2 separate regions of the Homo sapiens genome follow, and region 2 is linked to region 1. The links are contacts of gene promoters, found by promoter capture Hi-C in blood cells and fetal thymus (Javierre and others, 2016). All regions are on one chromosome and are shown on one strand. The core of a region is centred on a gene start or on the middle of the fragment in contact, and the rest is flanking DNA. Distances in the headings are between cores, read along the strand shown. Region 1 holds the start of BTBD10 (BTB domain containing 10). Region 2 overlaps SPON1 (spondin 1).

Region 1 (6,472 bases), core at 2,217-4,716:
AGACCAGCCTGGCCAGCACAGTGAAACCCCCATCTCTACTAAAAATACAAAAATTTAGGCGGGCGTGGTGGCACATGCCTGTAATCCCAGCTACTCGGGATGCTGAGGCAGGAGAATTGCTTGAACCAGGGAGGCAGAGGTTGCAGTGAGCCAAGATTGCACTACTGCACTCCAGCCCGGGCAACAGAGCGAGACTCCATCTCAAAAAAGAAAAAAAAAAAAGAGTAATCTTCATCTCTGTCCTCCCATAACACACTATTTCTATCTTTGACCTAACTTGTTTTCCTTTTGTTATTTAATTATACATCTCATTTTGTCAGAATATGTATAATACTATCTGTATCTCTTAGTATTTTTATTTTTTTCAGTTTTGTAGAGAAGTCTTGCTATGTTGCCCAGGCTAGTCTCGAACTCCTGTCAAGTGATCCTCCCGCCTCCCAAAGTGCTGAGATTATAGGCACGTGCCACAGTGCCCAGCTCTTCTGGTATTCTTACACAGGGGCTTGATTAATAAATGTATTTGCTGAATAGGGATCGAGTTATTTTTGCGTGTATGTGATTTTCCTGTTCCTGCCATTAGATGGCAGTGCTCAAACTTAGTAGTACAAAGAAATTCCAGGTTTTAAAAATTAAATAGGATTCTGGGTCTGTGGTCTTATCTGCTTTGAAACAATATTGCCTTAGCATGCTATAACACAAACTACCAAACGACCTTGTTTGTTCACTGCTACTATATGAAACTTCTCTTTCTGTATGGACCTCTTTGGTGTGTGGAAGAAAGACTTTCATTAAAGTTCTGAACCTTAGCCTATGCAGTCAGCTAGCATTTACAAATTATCGTGTAGAGCAGATTTGTGATTATCTAAATCTATGGCATTACCTACCAAATGTATAACTGTTACCAGTGCTACTGTGCTACTACCTTAATATTTGAAAGGTTAATTATCTCTTTTTTTTTTTTTGAAACGGAGTCTCGCTCTGTCGCCCAGGCTGGAGTGCAGTGGCACAAGCTCTGCTCACTGCAAGCTCCGCTTCCCGGATTCACACCATTCTCCTGCCTCAGCCTCCCAAGTAGCTGGGACCACAAGCGCCTGCCACCACCCCCGGGTAATTTTCTGTATTTTTAGTAGAGACGGGGTTTCACCATGTTAGCCAGGATGGTCTGGATCTCCTGACCCCGTGATCTGCCCGCCTCGACCTTTCAAAATGCTGGGATTACAGGCGCGAGCCTCCGAACCCGGCCGATTAATTTTCTTTTAAAGCAAAGAACAGTAGAAACTTTATTCGATTTTCTATTTTCTCCCAACTCCCATTCTCTTTTGTTTTTGAAGAACAGCAGAATGAAATGAGCTCCAGGACCCATCCAAGTAGGATATGATGGTTTGAACAGATTCCAGCATGGAACAAAGTTTCCATATTTTGCCTGAAGTCTTTCATTCATATGATTCTTCTAATGCTTCCTGGAAAATTCCAAGAACTTGATGTGAAATTATGCTTAACAGAACACCCAATTGGCCTATGGCAGGTGCATTAGTCCATTCTTGCACTGCTATAAAACAAAGAGGTTTAACTGGCTCACGGCTCCGCAGGCTGTACAGGAAGTCCGACGGCTTCTGCTGGGCTTCTGGGGAGGCCTCAGGAAGCTTACAATCATGGCAGAAAGCCAAGGTACAGCAGGCACGTCTTATATGGTGGGAGGAGTGGGGCGGGGGTGGGGGGGCGCCACACACTTTTAAAGAACAGATTTCACCAGAACTCACTATCACCAGAATGGCAAAAACAGGGAAATCTGCCCCCATGATCCAACGACCTCCAACACTGGGGATTACAATTCCACATGAGAGGTCAGGTGGGGACATAGATCCAAACCGTATCAGCAGGGTTAGAATAACTTTTTTGTTTTCCTCCTAAGTGTTGGGCTTATTCGTAGGGAGAGTATGGTAAGCCAAATAAAACTATAGTATACATAGTATTTTTCATATAGTATACATATTTTTATATGTAATATGAAAATAATGTGTCCAAAGGAAGGTGAGTGGAAACTACAGCAAAATACCAGAGTCTTTCTTTAGAAAAGGACAGCTTCTATTTTGATGTAAGAGTATGGCTCCTCATTAGCCCTAACTTGGACTACAGAATGACTTCTTCTGAGCAGAGCTTATAGGAGAAAATTTTGATAATAAATCAGGACTGATGACGTTTTTGTTTTTTGCCTGAGAATTTTCTCAGAGTTTCTCTGAGAAACTGTATCACAAAATTCCTATTAGATTGCTCTTATGTAGACAACTTGAAATTATTGGCAATTTCCAATTTAGCAAAATGTTGGCTATAATAACTTAGTGAATTACGACAATAACCCGTTTCTCTTAGGTTTCTGATATTTAAGTGTCCTTACAGGAGAAAGATGAAGTTATCTTATAATTGTCCAGCTCAACTGCTCATCTTCTTAGCATAAACACTGATTTGGAAAATACTTTGCGTATCACACGTAGGAGCCTGGGAATGTTCTCATCCGAACTAAACAGTGGTTAAAGGTTTTTCAACAAAGTTCTTGCTGCAATATCTGTTTTCATACCCAATTACTCAAACCAGGTCCTCTTCCTCTTTGCTTCCTCTCCTTGCAATGCCCTTCCCTCTCTTCCCTAAACTGGAGAACTTACTTATGCTTAAGATTCAGCGCAATTGTCACTCCCAGGTGAAGGCTTTCTCAACAAGGCCTCCCCGTCTGCTCCCAGAGCTCATGGCAAGCAGCTCGGCTTTTATCAGAGAATAATGGGATTATCTATTTTCCTGTAGGTCTTGCCCCGGGGGTGTAAGCTTCGAAGGCGGAGACTGTGTCTTTTACATTTTTTCCCGTTTTTATTGCCCAGCCAGCCCATGTAGGTGACTCTCGGTGTTTCCTAGGCGGCCAAACTGAAGGAGTTTCAGCTGGCACAGGGGTTCCCGCCAACCGAGCGTTTAAAAATAAGCAGCGGGGGACGTTAGGGAACAGAGGGTGTCCCTCACGACGACCGACTCTCATCAGGTCCACGCCGGCAGAAGCGATTTTGCAGTTTGCTTTGATGAGGAAAACGCTCTCCCTGAAGAGTCCCTGCACTATTTCTCCAACTCTGTGACCGAGACGCTGTCCACTTTTCTCTAACGGTGACAGGAAGTCAAGGGGAAAACGTGGGATTCAAAGGTTTGAAGGTAACAGCCCTCAGCCACTCGGGCTCGAGGCCCGCGGTTGACCCGAGCTGATGTCTGTGAGGAGAGGTCGCGCGGCGCCTTCCTCTCCACGCGCCTGAGATCCCACCCGTGGCCGCCGCGCCCTCAACTGCCTTCTCCTTCGGTGCCCCGCCCACCCCTGGGCGGAGAGCACCGTTCTCGCGAGAACGCTGCTGGCCTCGCCTCTTCGCATTGTGAGCTCTCGCGGTAAGAGGCTGAGGAGCCGGCCTGCAACCTGCCGGGGCGGCTCCGCTACGCGCAGCCGCCTCAGTGGCTTCCTCCACAGCCACCTCCGGAGGGATCTGGCTGAGGAGGAAGTGGAGGTGTCACTGGCCCCGGCCTTTGCCCCAATCTTGTGTGGGCACTGAAGGGGGACTACAGGTTCGAGAGTGAGTGGACTCAGCTGGGGAACTCGGCGGGGGCGGCGCGGGAGGCTGGGCTTGGCCGGGGCGAAAGAGGAAAGGGGCGGAGGGCGAATCTGGGCGTGAGAGCCAGGCTGCTGCGGCGGTGGTCTGGGCGGCCGGACCCTGCTCGGGTACCGTGGGTGGCGTTTTGGGCTCCGGCCACGAGCACCCAATTAGGAGAGGCCGGGATAAGACTTGAGTTTTGCGGCTGCTGCTTTTGGGTTGGGAGTCCGGGGGCCTTTCTCCGGGGATGAAGGCGATACCCTCATCCCTTTCCAGGGCAGAGGAACCCCGTGCCCCGCCCCTTTCCTGTCATCTCAGACGAACGCAGCGACATCCTGAGGAAGGCGCATCACAATAGGGGATAAGGTGGTGGGCAGCCTCCCTCTGGGTGAAGAGGAGTGAGACCCCACTAACGTGCTGCGTGGTTTTATGTTGTAACCATTTTACGTGTGGTAAAGCTTTGTTTTCTTAAAACTTGCACGGAAAAGGTTCTGATGTCTTTCTTCTTCAGATGCAGGTGCCCTGACACCCTTATCTTTGGGAATGGGGCGGGGGAAGGTGAGACATCGGTTAGTAATTTGTTAGTGTGGGCCAGTGTGACTGTCCCTGGGCCTCACAGATTTCCTGCTTCTCCTTTCTCAGTATTCTGAGTCCATGATGAAAAGTCACTAGTCCAGACATGCTGAAAGATAGAGCTTCACTTGCTTGTGGCTTTGTGCACTTAGTAAACAAGATTATTTTACGAAGATTTATTATCTTGCAGAGTTTTCATGCTTTTTATTTAAATTAGCAATCTAAATGAAACAGCACAGGATATTAATTGTATTTGGACAACTGAGTTCCTTCCCGCCCCTATCCTCCCAACCCCCCAACTACACAAATTTGATCAAAATCTTTTAGAGAGGGGGTTAGGGATAAATTTTCAATGAAAGAGACTGTGGAAATCGGAATAAGAGATATAATAAAGAATGCAGCCATAACGGCCAAAAGAGTTTCTGTATTAGAGAGCCTGTCCAGGATTGAAGTTCAGTCCTGAAACCCAGGACTGCAGTTGTCATTTGAATATAAAGCGGAAAGCAGTAGAAAATACTTGGGAAGGGATTTGAAAGTGGACCAAGACTGGTAAAAAAAAAAAAAAAAAAAGTGTGAGAAGAATTATTTCTGATGATGTAAATGTGTTTTATAAATTTTCCCAATATTTCTCAGCGTGTATGACCTAACAGCTATTATATTAATACATACAAAGTAGGAAGGAAGTTTCTGAAGCATGGAATGTGGTAAGGAACCACCAGAGAGTAACAGTGTTCAATCAGGAAAGCTTTTAGTGTTTCAACAATGTTTTTGTGTTCGTTCACCTTTTTTCTCACTCCCAGAAAAGCTTTCAGATAGACTTCTAACCCTATGTAATTATGTTACCCTTCCACCAGTCTGAATTTTCTTCTTTCTCACTCCCTCTAAGCCATGTGAATTTTTTAAATTATTAACTATGGAGTTGCAAACCACTGTGGTCTGCTTTTGGCTTTTTATAATAGGTGACTTAGGGAAGTATGGAAGTGATATGGAAAATATTGTGCACCTTTCAAAGCCATAGCATGAGCAACAAACTCACATGCCTTCGGGTACTAGTTAGATAATGAAAATGAGGGAAATGCACTATGCCTTATCAGAGAGACATCCAAGTCTCAGGTCCCCCTAATCAGTGCTATATAAGAATATGGACCCCATCTTCAGCATTCTCAAGAGAACTCGGAAATCTAGATTTTTGCATTCAGTGTCTTGCGTCTTAAAAATATTGACAACTAATTAAAACCATTAAAAATATCATGTGACTGAATCAAATCCAAACCTGTCCATAGTTGTATTCTCCTCTCCAGTTTAGAAGCTCTGTTATAAATCAAAATTAATAAATTTTATGACTGGAAAAAAAGGAGGTTTAAAGCAAGTTTGGAGTTTCAAACTTAAGGGGTCTTGGGAAAAATGTCACATCTAATTGAAAACAGTAGTTAAGTTTAATAGCCTTTAAGTATAGTTATAGTAGGGCAATTTGAACTGGTATTTACTATAAACGTTTTAACTGTGGAAATAACTGAAGAAAAAGCATCTCAGTATTTATGGTTTAAAAACTCAGAGTTCTGAGCAAAGCTGATTTATAGGTATCTTGTACAGAAATTGAATTATTTAGAAGCTCTTTATTGTATTTGCAGCTAATATATAAAATTAAATACAAGAGACCCTCTACAGTCCATTTCAGGATTTGAATGTTTATTGTTTGCTGTGCTATCCCACATTGTCTTCCTAGGCATTGACTTACTGGAAGAAATACTGATCCCTTGGATTTTATTCCATGCCAGATGGAGATTGGAGGGGTTTGGCAACAGGATGGAAAGAACTGGGTGGAGAAAGTGTGATGTGAAGCAAACACTCTTGTGCCCCTTCCTTACATTGTTCATTAAAAGATTGATTTGTGTTAGTTTTTCTTGTAAGAAGGATAGGTATATTAATTGATTAAACTTAGTGCCTTATACATAGTAGAGTTTAATGACGTGTGGAATTGACCTTTGTGGATTAAGCCTCATTTACCCATTAATGTGAAGTAATTTAATCACATAATCTGATTCATACCTAGTTGGGTTATGGGGAATGGGAGTGCTAGAGGTCAAAGCTAAGTAAGAGGTGTTTTTTAGGCATATAGAGGGCAAGTTGGGGGTCTTCACTTGGGATAAGGGTGAGAGAGGAAGTTAGGTAAGGGAGAGAATTTTGAAAAGGAAGATGAAATGATTAAGTACCCATTTGTGTATTGTGCAGTTTTAAAAAGAGGTCTGCCTTTTGTGGCTAAATTTATCATAACTTGTGCAGAG
Region 2 (6,930 bases), core at 3,581-6,080, 770 kb before region 1:
TCAGTGTGGAGTCAGCCTGGCCAACTTGCCTGATGCCCCTACCATCTCTCCTCCCCACAGGAAGAGAAATGGGATGCAATCCATGATCAGAGAGGGAAAGGAATAGAAACAGGTGGAAACAGCAACAATAATAAAACAATAATTATTTATTTTTTATGTGCTAAGCATCTTGCTAACCTTGCAAATTGCCTAATAGACAGCATCTGATTTAATCCTTACAACACATTTGCAAGGTGGATATATACGTTTTAATCCTCAGAAACACATTTATTTGGCCAAATTAGTTTCACAGTTAGTTAACTGGCTGAGCTAGAGTTTAGACCTCAGTCTGATTCTAGAGGCCACACCCGTTGCCACCATGAACCCAGGCAGATGGGGCCTGAAAGTGCACACTGTGGCCCAGGAGAACCAGGCCCACCCCTCCTACTTCTGCTGCTCTTAAGGGCATGTCCTAGCCTACTTTCAGTTCTGCATATCACAGCCACACGTGGAAGAATATCAGACCATGTTCACAACACTGAAAGTTACTGCTGTTCTGACGACCGGTTTGATGAAGCCGGGAAGGCACAGGCTCCTTGGGCTGAAGAAAAACTGTCTGCTACTAAACAGGGGAAAACCCAGTGCCACTAATTGCAAATGCAGTGATACGCAGCCACACACACAGTGTGCATTCCCCCATTCAACAGCTTGTTTCTTACAGAAAGCTTTGGAAATAGCTATCACGCTGTCCACTGCAGATGAGGAAGCTGTGGCTCAGAGGAGTCAGGTCATTTGCTGACCACACAGGAACCACGATTCCAACGCATGTGTATCTGACTCCAAACTCACATTCTTTCCACTTTCCCTGACTGTCCTTCTTCTCCATCCTTCTCTCCTCCCTCCCCCATGTTGCTCATTTTGCAGTGAGAGCACAGCTGACCCTGGTTGGTGGCTTTCTCCAAGGAGCCCTTGCTTTGAGGCACAGGATCACTGGGGTTCCCTCTGGGAGAGCAGTGTCTGGAATCTTGCGTGGAGACCCCGGTGAGCACTATTTGGCCCCATTATTTGCTTTTTCTCTTTCCCAGTTGCCATGCACAAAAAATATCCATCCTGACAGCTTCTACCTCTGAAGGTAACTTTTTCATGCCTGGGTGAGTGTTCTGGTGATGAGTAGCAAGAAATGAGCCATTTTATGAGGTGATAACGGGGCTGTAAGCATCTTTAAAACCAATTGTGCCCAACAGTAGCCTCCCCTCATTTCAACAGCCTCTGGGCTTCTCAGGTCATAAATAAAACAGCTCATATTTGGTGGCACTTTGCAGTTTGCCCATGGTCTGCACTGCTGCTCTCTGAGGAAGGCAGGAGGGTGTCCCCATTTCTCAGGTGAGGCAACTGAGACTCACCTCTCCTCTGACAGCAGACTCACTGCTCCCGTCAAGGTCACCAGTGACCTCTCCGTGCCAAAGCCAAAGTCAGTGCCCAGCTCTCAGCTCTTGTGACCCCTCAGCAGTATTTGACACAGCTGGTCACTCACTCCCTCTGCCTTGAAAAGCTTTCTCCTTGGCTCTGGGACTTGCTGCCTCTGATTTTCTTTCCACTTCATCAACTCTTCCTTCTCAGTCTCCCTCGCTGACTCCTATTCACTTTCCTCTAAAGCTTGAAGTGCCCCAGGGCTCAAGCCTTTGGTCTTCTCTTTTATCCACACTCCCTTGGTGATTTCATTTAGTCCCCTGCCTTAAAAAGCCAACTGTGTATATGCTGATGATTCCTAAGCTGTAATCTTCTATTGCAAACTAGCCTCTGACTCTAGACTTGCATATCAGCCACTCAACATTTTCATCTGGGTATCTAAGTGGCATCTCAAACTCAACAACGTGCCTGAAACCAAACTCCTGATCTTCCCCTCCCTAAGCCCAGCCTCCTTCATTCTTCCCATCCCATTACATGGCAATGCCGTACTTTCAGTTCCATCCACCCTGGATGCCTCTTTCTCTCCCACCCTGCAACTGATCCATCGGCACACCCTGTCAACTCCACTTCCAAAATATCTTCATGATCCAACCACTTTCCGTCTCCTGCCTGCCTCCATCCTGATCCAAGCCACCATCATCGCTCAGCTAGATGAGTGCAGTTGCTTCCTAGCAGGTCTCTCTACCTCCCCTCCCTTCCTCCAGACTCTTGTTCGTGCAGCAGTCATATCATGCCATTCCTCTGGCCAAAATCCTCCAGTGGCTTTGCATCTCACAGCAGACAGGACCTTGCTCTGGTCCCCCACACCCTCCATGGTCTGCCTGTCCTCCTGAGCCTCATCTCTTACTACTCTTCCACAACCTGGGTTTCGGCATCCTGGACTTCTTATGTATCTTTAAACATGCCAGGCACACCTTGCACTTGCTGTTCCCTGTGCCTGGAATGCTGTTCTCCCAGATACCAGAGCACTCTCTCCTTTGTTTCCTCCAGGTCTTTGCTCAAATGTCAACTTCTCAGTGAGGACTTTGATGTCCATGGCAGGTCCCTGCCCCCTTTTTGACTCAGCATCCCTATTCCTTTATCCCACTATCTTTTCTTCATAACATTTGCCATTGTCCAGTTGACTGTGCATTTTGCTTACTTTTTTTTTTTTTTTTTTTTTTTTTTTTTGAGGCAGGGTCTTTCTCTGTTGCCTAGGCTGGAGTACAGGGGCATAATCATGGCTCACTGTAGAATGACCTCCTGGGCTCAAGCCATCCTTCTACCCTCAGCATACCAAATAGCTGGGACTACAGGTGCCTACCACCATGCCCAGTTAGTTTTAAAATTAGTTGTAGAGATGGGGTCTTGCTTTGTTGCTCAGGCTGGCCTCACACTCCTGGGCTCAAGCCATCTGCTTGCCTCAGCCTCCCAAAGTGTTGGGATTACAGGCGTGAGCCACCATGTCCTGCCTTATTTACTTTTTATTGTCTATCTCCCCCTGCTAGAATGGAAGCTCCAAGAGGGCGAGGGTGTTTGTCTGTTTTGCTCACTGCTGTACTATCAGTGTTTAGATCTGTGTTGGGAACACGCTTAACTAATACTTGTTGGGTGAATGAGAGGCTGTGATGAGGAAGGGGCTGGTGTCCTCCGAGGCCCAGTCCGTGGGCACTCCCTGGACCTAGGATGGAGCCAGCGCAGTGTGAAGTGACACTCATCGACCTGGGTGTCAGCTGGAGGCGCTGGAGGAGCAGTGAGAGTCCCAGCATAGAGCCGTGCCAGCACTGCCAGGTAGAGGAGGGGAAGGGACAGCATACAGTGACCACTTTGGGAACCGTGGTCAGAGCTCACAGGTTCTGAACCTGGCTCAGGTGGGCTGGCTGGCCGTTCATAAGTGCTCATTCTATGCCCCGTTCCCCGGGAAGCAGCCACCATCACAAGCTGCTGTCTGATCAACTATTTTAGAGCAAGAGAAAGTATCTGAAGCCCATTAGCAGATCCACTAGAAGATGATGCGTTTGCACAGAAGCATTTCAAATTCAATTTCTTTTTATTTCTTTTCAAACACAGCTTGTAATTTCGATGGGAAAATTGCATAATGTCCGTAGATAATGATTTTCCCCTGAGATGGTTTTGTGGAAGCAGCTTGGCATTTCTGAAGCCAGAGAGGAAGGGACCATCAGAGCTGTTCCGGGCCTGCCCCACTGCCCCTCCGCCCAAGGGCTGCCTCCGGTGGGTGGGAGCTCTGAGGACTCACATCACCCTATGACCTTCTGTGTGCTGGCACTGGCCATCGGCATTTACTTAGCTTGTCCTTTGGTAACTGAAGTACCATCCTGGATTTAACCTCATTTTCTGCATTTTTATTATGTTCTTTTTAGTGCTCACACAAGTCTGCTGCTCCCCTGAGTAAAATCAGTGAGCAAAGGAGCAGAAGAGGCTGATGGGGCATGCCTGCCTCCCATCCCACCAGCCCCCAGGACCTGCTCTTCCGTGGTCCGCCTCCCCATCTTCTACCTGACCTTCAGCAGTCAGAAAAACCTTAGTGCCAAGGCCAGAGCAAAGAAGGGAAAAGGGGGCCACAGCAGAAGGTATTCGAACATCACGTAGGTGATGCCAAATCCAAACAGGAGAGAACATCAAGCAAGGGCTGTCTGCCTTCAAACAGAAAGGGCTGTGAGGAAGCCCAGCCCATGATCCAGGCCAGATCTGACTGGAGGTGCCTCAACCTGTAAGGGTAGTGCCCCTTTCAGCACCCCTAACCCTACCCCATGGGAACACATCCTGTAGTCTTCAAGAAACAGCACTGGGGGTCGGGTGCTTTGGCTCACACTGTAATCCCAGCACTTTGGGAGGCCAAGGTTGATGGATCACCTGAGGTCAGGAGTTTGAGACCAGCCTGGCCAACATGGTGAAACCCCATCTCTAAAAGTACAAAAATTAGCTGGGCATGGTGGCGGGCACCTGTAATCCCAGCTACTTGGGAGGCTGAGGCAGGGGAATTGCTTGAACTCAGGAGGCAGAGGTCGCAGTGAGCTGAGATTGTACCATTGCACTCCAGACTGGGCGACGAGGGCAGAACTCCATCTCAAAAAAAAAAAAAAAAAAAAAGAAAAAGAAACAGTGTTGGACACTCCTCAACCATGATTCCCATCCCCACTGCCATCCCAGGGCAGGTCCCGTCCCAGAAGCCAGCATTAGAGCAGGGGCCGCATTGCATCCCTTCTATATCCTCAGCACCAGCCTGGCTTGTGAGAGGTATGCAGGGAATATTTAAGGGATAAATAATGAATTAGTTAATTAAACAATTAGTTAATAATAAGCTAGAGGAAGTCTCTGGCCTTGGCTGCCCTCCCAGAGGGTTTAGGGGCTGTTGTTCAGAGTGTGATGGGACTGGAACATGGCTGAGGGGTTTGTGAGCAGAAGAGTGGTATGACCTGATTCATATTTTTAAAGGATCCTGCTGGCTGCTCAGGGAAAGTAACTGGAGTGGGGCAAGCTGGGGAGCAAGGACCCCAGGCAGGAGGCCATTGCTGTGTCTGGCGACATAGGGCCAGGGAAGAGCAATGGAAGGGGTTCAAGGCATGGGATGCAGATATATTTTACAGGTCGGCTCAGCGTTATCTGCTGATGGATTGGATGTGAGGTATAAAACAAAGAGGGGTCAAGGATGACTCCAAAAGGAGGTGTCATGTAGGAAGGTAGATATATGAGGCCGGAGCTCAACGGAGAAGTCCAGGCTGGAGACGTAAACTCCAAGTCATCAGCATAGAGACTGGTAGTTAAAACCACAGGATAGATTACCTGGGGAGTGAATGGAGGCAGAGGAGAGGATGGGGGAGAGCAAAGCAGACTAAGGTATAATGGCCAGAGAGATAGGAGGACACCAGGACCTGCCCAGGGCCTCTTCAGAAACCCTGTGCTTACCCCACTACCTCTGCGGCCTCTGTTTACTGCTGCCCTACTGCCCCCCCTGCCATGTGCTCACTGCTGCCGCCGCTGCCCCACTGGCCACTACTGAAAATACAATGGAAGCAGGTTCAGGAAAGACAGAGGTGAATTAGCGGAACCAGCAAGCCCAGACAGCGCTTTTTGAGAAGTCGGCTGTGGAGTTGAGAAAAATGGCAGTAGCAGGAAGGACATGTGATTATTTTTTGAAAGATGTGTGATATGAGGGCAAGTTTGTATGTCCAAGTGTATAATCCAATATAGAAGATAAGCTCATATTGCAGGAGAGAGGGAGGGTGCACTTGCAGGAATGGATCCCTAAGGTGAGATCCAGACCTGGGAGGGAGGAGTGGTCTTCCAGAGTTGCCAGAGTGGGGAGGGAAAAGGGAAGCAGAGGACAGAGCTGCAGATGCTCTGGTTACTGGTTATCTGCAGGTGCTCTGGTTAGTGGTTACAGGCATGAGCCAGAGAGCATGTGGGTTGGGTTGCTGGGGCTGATGGTGAGGACTCATTCATCCAGCAATGATAGATGGAGCCCCTAGTCTGTGCCAGGCCTATTCCACGTGCTGGAGAATGAGCCCTGAACAGAAGACACACCCATCCTTGTCCTCAAGGAGCTTACATTCCGGAGGAGGAGGCAGACATAACAGCTACACAGTGTGTCCAGTGCTGATTAGCTCTCCGGGGAAAATATAGCCGGGAAGGGTGAGGGGGAGGGCCAGGATGGGGTGAGAGAGTTATGCTGCAATTTTAGAGTGGTGGAGGAAGCCTTCACCAATAAAGTGACTCAAGTATTTTAAGAAACAGATGCTGATGCATATGAAAGGGCCAGGAAAGAACTCTACCAAAATGAAAATATACCTCACATACTGAAATAAGGTCTTTAGAATTTAAAAACATAACCATGTTTTGGCCACACACACAGAGACAAACACACACACACACACACGGCGTAGGAGGAGAGAGAAACAAAAAGAATGACCCTATAATCCCACCATCCTTACCCAGCAGCTTTCATCAATTGCAATATTCATTTGTTTGTCATAGTTGACATCATAACTTATGCACAAAACTCACACACACACACACGTATATACTTTTGAATCTTTTTTTTTTAGACATTGCTGTATAGTCTTTGGATTCACCATTAAAAAAGTCATGTCACAAGTAAGAGTATCTGTAAGATATATTAAATGTTAAAAGCAAACTACAGTACAGTTTGTATAGTAATCTATTTGTGTAATCTATTTACCTTTGTGGAGAGGGGTGGTAAGGATAAAGAAAATTGTGTGTGTATATATTTCTAGTTGCATAAAGTATCTCTGGAAGGATATATAAGAACATTACAAAAATCAGTTGCCTCAGGAGAAGGGAACTAGGTAACCAGGGAGCAAGCAAAAGGCTGAGGATTGTCACTGTGTAACCTTATTATATATCTTTTGATTTTCAAACCATGTGAATATATTGCCATTAAAAAAATGGAGGCTGGGGCCAGGTGTGGTGGCTTACACCTGTAATCCCAGCACTTTGGGAGGCCAAGGCAGGTGGATCACG

Evidence for each region. Contacts are between HindIII fragments. The CHiCAGO score rates a contact against its expected background, and 5 or more counts as called.
Region 2: a fragment that was not itself captured here is called in contact with the fragment with the promoter of BTBD10 in region 1 in 1 of 17 cell types (total B cells); the score reaches 5.1 in total B cells.

The regions. Positions count from the first base shown.
Region 1 is chr11:13,460,216-13,466,687 of GRCh38, reverse strand. BTBD10 (BTB domain containing 10) reads left to right here and starts at 3,466. Exons shown (of 9, transcript NM_032320.7): 1 at 3,466-3,596. RefSeq lists an enhancer at 3,097-3,286. The HindIII fragment of the contact is 1,255 bases long and covers 2,820-4,074 here.
Region 2 is chr11:14,231,368-14,238,297 of GRCh38, reverse strand. All of the region lies in intron 6 of SPON1 (spondin 1), which reads right to left. Among named protein-coding and RNA genes, the nearest start is that of RRAS2, 120 kb to the left of the region's middle. RefSeq lists an enhancer at 678-727. The HindIII fragment of the contact is 6,386 bases long and covers 1,638-6,930 here.